Linked DNA regions of Homo sapiens: region 1 is linked to region 2. The links are contacts of gene promoters, found by promoter capture Hi-C in human tissues and cell types (Jung and others, 2019). All regions are on one chromosome and are shown on one strand. The core of a region is centred on a gene start or on the middle of the fragment in contact, and the rest is flanking DNA. Distances in the headings are between cores, read along the strand shown.

Region 1 (3,788 bases), core at 755-3,254, 1.0 Mb before region 2:
CTGTCCTTCCCCAGGACAGCTGCACACCAGGTATTTTCCATCACCCTCACTGGGCAGTAAGTTGGAGCATAAAAATAAGTAACAAGAGGCTTATTTTTACTTCTACTCAGGGTGCAGAATCACCCTAATTCGTTGTTTTCCACTCAAATACTCTGTTTTGTTTTTTAGCATGTTATCAAATAAACCATTAGTCCAATTATTAAAATAAACGCTGTAGTTATCTGAGCGACTGTATTTTGTATCCGTCAAATCCACAAGTGTAGTAATTTTACCTTTCTGAAATATCTGCCACGCCACGCGTTCAAAGCCAGCAAGCTACTCCTCTCTCTGCAAGGCACTGAGAAAGTACGTGGAAAGAAGTGGGGAAAAGCACATTTAAGAAACAGGTTTTCTGCAGGATCACAATACTGTGACAACTGCCTATAAAAGAGTGTGGCTACTTTCCCGGCATTCGGTCCCCGTGACTACATAACTTAAGCACTGCATCTGTGGAAGTCTCTCCACTCAATGCTGGACCCTAATTAATGTATTTGAGATCCAGGCAGACATTGTCCCTGGGCTCAACGACTAACCTTCCTGAAAACACGCATTTCTCAGTATGCGCATAACGCAAATAGGTGCTCACAGGCATCCGAACAGTATGCTTCGAAAAGAAGCATTTTCCCAAGAAGCCCCCCCAACCCCCATCCCCCGCAAACTCCGGAATTGGGAGACACAACAGGTACTTCCACCTCGGAAGCGAAGGCCTTCTGCGACTCCTGCCAAGAAGGGCAGGGTGCCATGCGGTGGTCGCCTGGGCGCGTCCGGGGGGCTCGTCGCGGGGCCCGGGCCAGAGCCAGGCGGCGAGCACGCGGCGCTGCATGCGGGAAACCCGGGCGGCGCCTCCCGCCGCCCCTCAGCCCCGAGCCAGGGACCCCCAGGAGAGGCTGCGCTCCCACGACCCTCCGGACCCCCACAGAGGCTCACCAGGGCCGGCGCGCCAGGGCAGGTGGGCGCGGGGGCTGCACTGCGGAGCCGCAGCCTGGGTCGCCCTGGCACCCGCGGTCGCCACCCGCGCGGTCCGCAGCGGCACGCCGAGGGTCTCCAGCTCCCCGGCCCTCCCCGGCTCGCTCCCGGCTTTCGCAGACTTCCCCTGCTCCTGCCCCGGGTACGAGCCAAGCGCTCCGCCAGGCAGCGCCTTCCTCCTGGGCTGGGAGCGCGCGGTGCAGCAGCGACTCCAAGTCCCCTGGCCTCGAGCAGCCCGCGCGACACGCGCGCGACACCCCCGCGGGGTCCGAGTCCACCCCGCGAGCAGCGCCGGGACGCCGCGCGCCTCAGAGCCCCGGGGCTGACGCTGGCTTTCCAGGTGGGCGATCTCACCCCTCCGGCTCCCGTGATGGTGGCAACGGGTGTCCCCCACCCCCAACCGGTCACCGCGCCCTGGTGCCCCGTCCGGCAGGGATGAGCCGCCCGGACCCCGCTCTCTCCCGCGCCCGGCTTCAGCCCCGCAGTCGCCAGGGTAAAGTTTGCGCTCTGGCCTGGCTGCGCGCCCCGCCTGCTCTGCACCTCTCCTCCCCGGCCACGCAGCCTGCCGCTCAGGCGCCCCGAGGAGAAGGGTGCGGACCGAGCCGGGGCGGCCGGTCCTCTTCCCCGCTCGCGTCCTCTTACCCCACTGCCCCGGCCCAGCGCGCCCAGGGCTCACCCTGCGCGCCGGCCCCGGGAGGCGAGCCGTCGGTGAGGATGCATCCTCCTTCTCCTCCGCCTGCTCTCGCCCGGCTGGCAGGCGCGGAAGGCCGGTGCGGCGTCACCGCCCCATGCTGCCAGCGCGAACTTCCCCGGCACTCCCGGCGGAGCGGCTCTTGCGCCCCGCGCTCCCGCCGCCGCCCTGCAGCTCCGCTCCGCGCCGCGCCCCGGGCCGCGCGCCGCCCGCCGCAGAGCCCCCCAGCGCCCCCGGCGCACTCGCGCCCGCTCTCACCTCGCCCGAGCGCCACATGTCGTCTCTGGGCTGGAGGATCGGCCCTCTGCAGAGGTGCTCCGGTAGAGGCCGCCAGACGCTCAGCAAATGCGCCCTTGGCCGAGCTGGGCGGAGGGGGAGGGCGCAGGGCCCCCGGCTCGGCCTGCAAGGGGAGAGGCCCTGTTCTGCTGAAGTTTCTCCAGGGCCCTCAACAGCATCTTCGGCGCCTCGTGTAGTCACCACCGCCCGCTTGTAGAGCAGGGATGGGAGGGCAGTGTCAGCAGTCGGGTGATAGAGGCCTGGACTCCGACAGCTTTGCTCCCTAGAGCCGGCCCCAACGCCTCCCTGCCCAGGCCTGGGTCCTTCCCGGGTGCTCCATGGCACCCCTTACATGCGCATCTCTTAGGCGCTTCTGAAAGAAGCTGGCCTGTGGACATTCTTTTCATCTCACTCATAGACAGGAATGCATAACTACGGGAGGGAAAGCCAGGGTCACATTGGACTCGATTAGAATGAAATCCTTACCTAACGCAGTGTATATCTGGGGGTTTTCTGAAGTTCCATTTCTTGACAACAAGCCGCAGTGGCAAACGGGAAAGGGCCAGGAGCCCTGGGGGCTGCAGGTCGGAGAGCGCCTCTGGGGTGACGGGGCGGGATCTCCCCAGCAGGGCTTCCGAGCCACGTCGGGTCACTGCCTCATTAGCCACGTACATGGGGTCTTACTATGGTCATTACGTCGGTGTGTCGTCCGTCCTAGTGGTGCAGTTCCTGGGAGGTGAGGGTGGCATTAATGACAACTGCGCGGCAGCAGGGCCCCTTCAAACAACACAAGTAAGAGCGCATCGTCTTGGGTTTGCCAGGTCTTGCTTCCTCAGGAGGTGGGGGACTCTCGACTATAACACCCAGTGGAAAACGTTCAAGACTCAAAGGAAAGCCACTGAAAACGTGATGGGGAGGTTTACTTACACCATTGTCCCATTCCTTTTGTGAAACTGCATTATTCATAATCTCTTTTAACAGAATAATGGTAAGTAAAGGCAAATTCCTAACTCCCCTCCAGGAAAGATCTTTGACCTTCCAGTGTAGGAAGCCTCTCATTTTTCCAGTTATCTCTAATACAGTGTATTCCAAATCTAAGTTACCTGTTAATACTTCTGCACATTCCAGAAATTCTGAAATTTTCTGAAAAACAAAACTTGTAAATCTATTCCAGGAATAGGACATAAATATACATAAATGTGCAAATATACAGGAAGTGTTTCTCTGAATATACATTTAGCCACACTATTAAATAACTGTTTCCAGTGGTTCTTCAGGAAATATGAATGAAATAAGATGCTAATTTGAATTTTCTAATTCTAAAATGGATCACTGAACGTATGCATTTCTTCATTTTCTAATTTCCCAAAAGATGTACCACTAGGGTGAAATTCCTTGGGAGACATTAAATTTTAAAAAGTTAACAACATGGTTTTATGATCAGCCTAATATAATTTTCACCTATTAGGTGTTGGAATTCTAACACCTAATACCAGCGACAGCTGCTCTTCTCTCAGGATTAAACAGCATAATGCAAATCAAAGAGTTGGAAGAATTGGTAAATTTTAAACTTCACAGCTTGTCACACAAAGTCATTCGGTGTGAGTTTGCAAAAATAAATGTATATAAACAAGGGATGATTTTTGTATTAGCGAGGGTTATAGACATTAATTCTTAATAATAAAAGAAATGTCAGCTGTAAGGAAATATGTTCTTTTGATGGATTATGTTTAAAACTTCCACTTTTTTTGGTACACTTTCTATCAGCTTTATGTCCACACAACACATATTATTGAATATATAAAAATCATTTTAA
Region 2 (4,085 bases), core at 1,299-3,798:
AAGCTGTGGGGTTGAAGGTTTTAGAATGAGTGTGAGGCAGAAGCCCCACCTGTTTCTTAAACACATTGAGATTTCTCCTTCTTTGGGACCTTTTGACAGAGCTGCCCCCTCTGTCTGGAAGCCTCTTCCACCTGATCTTGTCCCATTCAGGTTTCAACTCCAGTGCCTCTCTTCGAAAAGGCCATCCCTCATCCCTTCCAAAGCCCTCCGTGGGCTCTCATGGTTTTTCGTTCAGTTGCTGCAGCTCCATGACAACATCTTGTCCTCTCTAGCTCTCCGATGAATTCCTGTGCCTGGAACATTGCCGGGCATACAGCAGGGGATGAGTAAGTATTTGCCGAACAAGGACACTTACAGTGGTTCTCATGGCCTATAGCAGGCCCTTGTTAGAGCCCTGTGGTGCAGATGGCCAACCCAGAGTTGACCAGACCACATCAGAGCCTCATCCTCGCCCCAGCAGGCCAGGGTCTCAGAGTCCAGCTGGCAGAAGACACCTGAGCTCAAAACCCCTCCACGATTCCCCAGATCACACAGCTTGGAGACCTTTCCAGAGGTGAGCTGAGCTAGGCCTTCCTGGAAATCCTGACTTTGCACTGGGGAAGAGCAGGTGGAAAAAGATTCCAGACTTGAGGAGCATTGTGACTCACAGAATCTTGGAACCTTAGAGCGGAATGTGGATGGGATGAGTAAGGACTGTTCTGAGAAGGATAAGGAGACCTCTCACCTTGGGGCTGGGCCTGAACCAGGGAGGGGCTGAAGAAAATCAGCAAGCTGGTTCCCCTCAGGGCCTCAAGGGACCTCTGCCTGAGGAATCAGCATTTGGCTTTGTAAGCACCAGGAGTACTCCTGGAAGCTCCAGGGTAAGCAAATGGAATGAGGCGGTAATTACTTTGGCAACAGTGTGGACTGGCTGAAGCTGGGAGTCTGGTAGGCGCGGACACCCCTGGAGACTTTGGGCGAAGGGTCCACGGGGATGCCTGTGAAGACAGGAGGCCGAAGTGTAGGGAGGCCGAAGGCCTCGGGGGTCACCAGGTGGGCTGGTAGAGGAAAACACGGAGCCATGGGATGTGAGGCCTCAAGACTGCAGGCGCTGTGGGCCTTCATTTGCAGTTGATGCTCCGTTTGGGTTTCTGCTGGTTGACTGTGAGACCTGACTCCTTTCCCCAACAATGCAGACTTCAGCCAAACCTTTCCCTGATCTGGGCCTCTACATGTCAAAAGCCCACCCCTGTGACTGGGGGATGGGATTATTTTCTTCACACCTGTCACCACTCTACCTTCTAACACTGGGTTCTGGGCAACATTGTGGATGGTGGCAAAACTGGGCAGAGATGTAAGAATGTCATAACTGGAGCCGGGTAAGCCAGGGTGCTGGAGGGGAGGGCCTCCCCAAGCCAGGGTCCTGGCGAAGACGTGATTTGAGTCCATCCAGGGCAGTGCCTTGTTAGCAGGCACCCCCAGGAAGAGCCTGGGGCCACGGCCAACCGCCCAGCCACGGCCTCCTGGGCAAGAAATAACTGCTTCTCATCTCTGTACTTCTTGAGTGGGAGGCAAACAGTCACAGCCATGAAACATCTGTGGGGTCTCACTGCGGACGTGGGGGACTCCCAGCTCCTTTTTCCATGCCGTGCTTATTCTCCCACCCCTTCTCGGATGCCCCATGATGTGGAGGGGAGCCCTTCGCCCCACACTTCTGGGACACCCTCCTGACGCTCCCCTCTCCTCCCCACAACCATCCTCGCCTCCCCACAACCATCCTCGCCTCCCCCGCCGTCCGGGCCATGACAGCCACCTCAGAGCTACAGCGCACAAGGAGCGTTTCGGTCCTCATGATTTCCCAGGGAGGGAAACAGACACTCAAATACCTGCAAACCAAATTCTGTCTTTGCTATAGCGATATATTTCTCCTTTCCATGAAGAAAGAACAGAAAAAAGAAAAAGAATTTATTTAGGAGAGGAAGGAAAGGCAGTAATGATGATGGTGGAAAGGAAACGGTCTAGTTCGCCCAACAACGGAATCTGAAAGTGGTGGGGGCTGGGAAGTGGGGTAGGAAAGAAGTTCTTAGAGGCAACGCGGAATCGCCCTTCCCAGGGCTCCCCAGGAGCAGAGGTCCTGCGTAAAAAAGACTTAAAAATTGGAGCACTGGATGCCATGGATCCTTTGGATTTTGATTCCAGTTGATCCCTGGAGTAAGGTCCTAACCGGGGTCTCCCGAGGTCGTTTCGCCGTCCAGGATGGAGCAGGTCTGGCCCCTGGAAGGGCGCGCGGGCTGCTTGGGGACGGGGGCGCCTTTTCTCGCGCTTCGCGGTTTCCTCTCTCCTACTGCAGGCAGCGCGCGTTTGCAGCGTTTTGGGACCGAACTGATGCTTCTGGGAAACGAAACTAAACCTCTCTGAAGTTTCCAGCTCGGGCTTTTTTTGTTTCCCGCTATCCGGCGTGGCCCAGTCCGGGCGCGGAACGAGGGCGGGGCCGTGGCCACCGCGGCGGAAACGACCCGGGCCGGGGGCGGGCGGCGAGGACAAGGGGGCTCTGTGCGGCACCCGCCCAGCTTGCGCCCTGGGGACTGCGGCCGGGCGGCGGGGCTGGACGGGAGTGGACGGGGCTGGGCGCGGGCTGGGCGCGCTGGGCCGGCCAGGCGGCGCGCTGACCGCGGTCTCCGTGCGTCCCGCAGGCGGGGAGCTCGCACCGCCGCGCCCGGGCCGCGAGTGATGATAACCTAAGAGGCCGGCGCGGGCGGGCGTGAGCGGCGGAGGAGCCGGGCGCGGCGACACGCGGCCATGGAGCGGGAGCCGGCGGGGACCGAGGAGCCCGGGCCTCCGGGACGGCGGAGGCGCCGAGAGGGCAGGACGCGCACGGTGCGCTCCAACCTGCTGCCGCCCCCGGGCGCCGAGGACCCTGCGGCTGGCGCGGCCAAGGGCGAGCGGCGACGGCGGCGCGGGTGTGCCCAGCACCTGGCCGACAACCGGCTCAAGACTACCAAGTACACGCTGCTGTCCTTCCTGCCCAAGAACCTGTTCGAGCAGTTCCACCGCCCGGCCAACGTGTACTTTGTCTTCATCGCGCTGCTCAACTTCGTGCCGGCGGTGAACGCCTTCCAGCCCGGCCTGGCACTGGCGCCGGTGCTCTTCATCCTGGCCATCACGGCCTTCAGGGACCTGTGGGAGGACTACAGCCGCCACCGCTCCGACCACAAGATCAACCACCTGGGCTGCCTGGTCTTCAGCAGGTGAGTTGGGCGGGCGGGCGAGCGAGCGCGCGGTGGCGCAGGGCAGGGCGCCCCGGGAACTTGGTGTTGGGCACAGTGATTGGCAGGGGCTGGGTGCTTAGAAGGCAGCTCCACTCAGGGTGGAGGGCCCGGCTGCGCGGGACCCGGTGCCGACCGAAGCCACAGCGCCGCCAAGGCCTCTCTGTGCCTCCGCCGCAGCTAAAGGGGCGCCCTGGATGCGGGGACGCGTGGGGATCCCCTGTCACTCCGTGTCGGGGCCAGAATGATCCCAAGGCTAGAAACCGACGGCCGCTGGACATCCTCATCCACAGCCGCTCCCACCTGAAGTGAAAGGCAGGAAAAGCCAGCCTGGCCCCCTGGCCTGAAGTCCCTGCCTCAGTCTTCGGCCAGGCACAGTGGTCTCTGAACAGCCGGCACAGGACAGTAAAGCTCAGTCTGCTAACAGCTCGGCTCAGGACAGCAGCAAAGTGAAACTGCCGCCAAGTGCTGATATGTCTGGCACGGCCCAGGTACCAGGGCAGGGGAAATAACAGCAGTGTCCATCCTCCACTGTGAGCCATGAGCCGCGAGCCAGGCACCGCCCGGTAGCTGCCTGCCTAATTTTCTTCATCTTAACCTGCTTCCTGGGGGAAAGAGGCTGTGGGGTGTTTGTGAGCCCTGCCACGGGCAGTACCAGGGGTGACCCTGCGATGGACCACTCCTGCTCTTTTTCCCTCCCTGAGTTTTAGAGTCTCCGGCGGACCTGTCCAGAGGCCTGCGGCCTTTTCATCCTTTATGCTCTCCACCCCAGGAGAGCCCCTTGGTAGATCCATCTTGGAGCTGTGTCCAGCAGCCTGGACCACCTCAAGGCCCTGTCCC

The links. The method cuts DNA at HindIII sites, captures the fragments that hold promoters and counts their contacts. A contact is called where the count stands out against the background at its distance.
Region 1: the fragment with the promoter of GABRA5 here is called in contact with the fragment with the promoter of ATP10A in region 2 in 2 of the 25 tissues and cell types used here (spleen and thymus).

Annotation. Positions count from the first base shown.
Region 1 is chr15:26,865,278-26,869,065 of GRCh38, reverse strand. GABRA5 (gamma-aminobutyric acid type A receptor subunit alpha5) reads right to left here and starts at 2,004. Exons shown (of 11, transcript NM_000810.4): 1 at 1,955-2,004; 2 at 273-337. The HindIII fragment of the contact is 20,920 bases long and covers 1-3,788 here.
Region 2 is chr15:25,861,790-25,865,874 of GRCh38, reverse strand. ATP10A (ATPase phospholipid transporting 10A (putative)) reads left to right here and starts at 2,548. Exons shown (of 21, transcript NM_024490.4): 1 at 2,548-3,227. The coding sequence starts at 2,779. ATP10A-DT (ATP10A divergent transcript) reads right to left here and starts at 605. Exons shown (of 2, transcript NR_183988.1): 1 at 1-605. The HindIII fragment of the contact is 9,757 bases long and covers 1-4,085 here.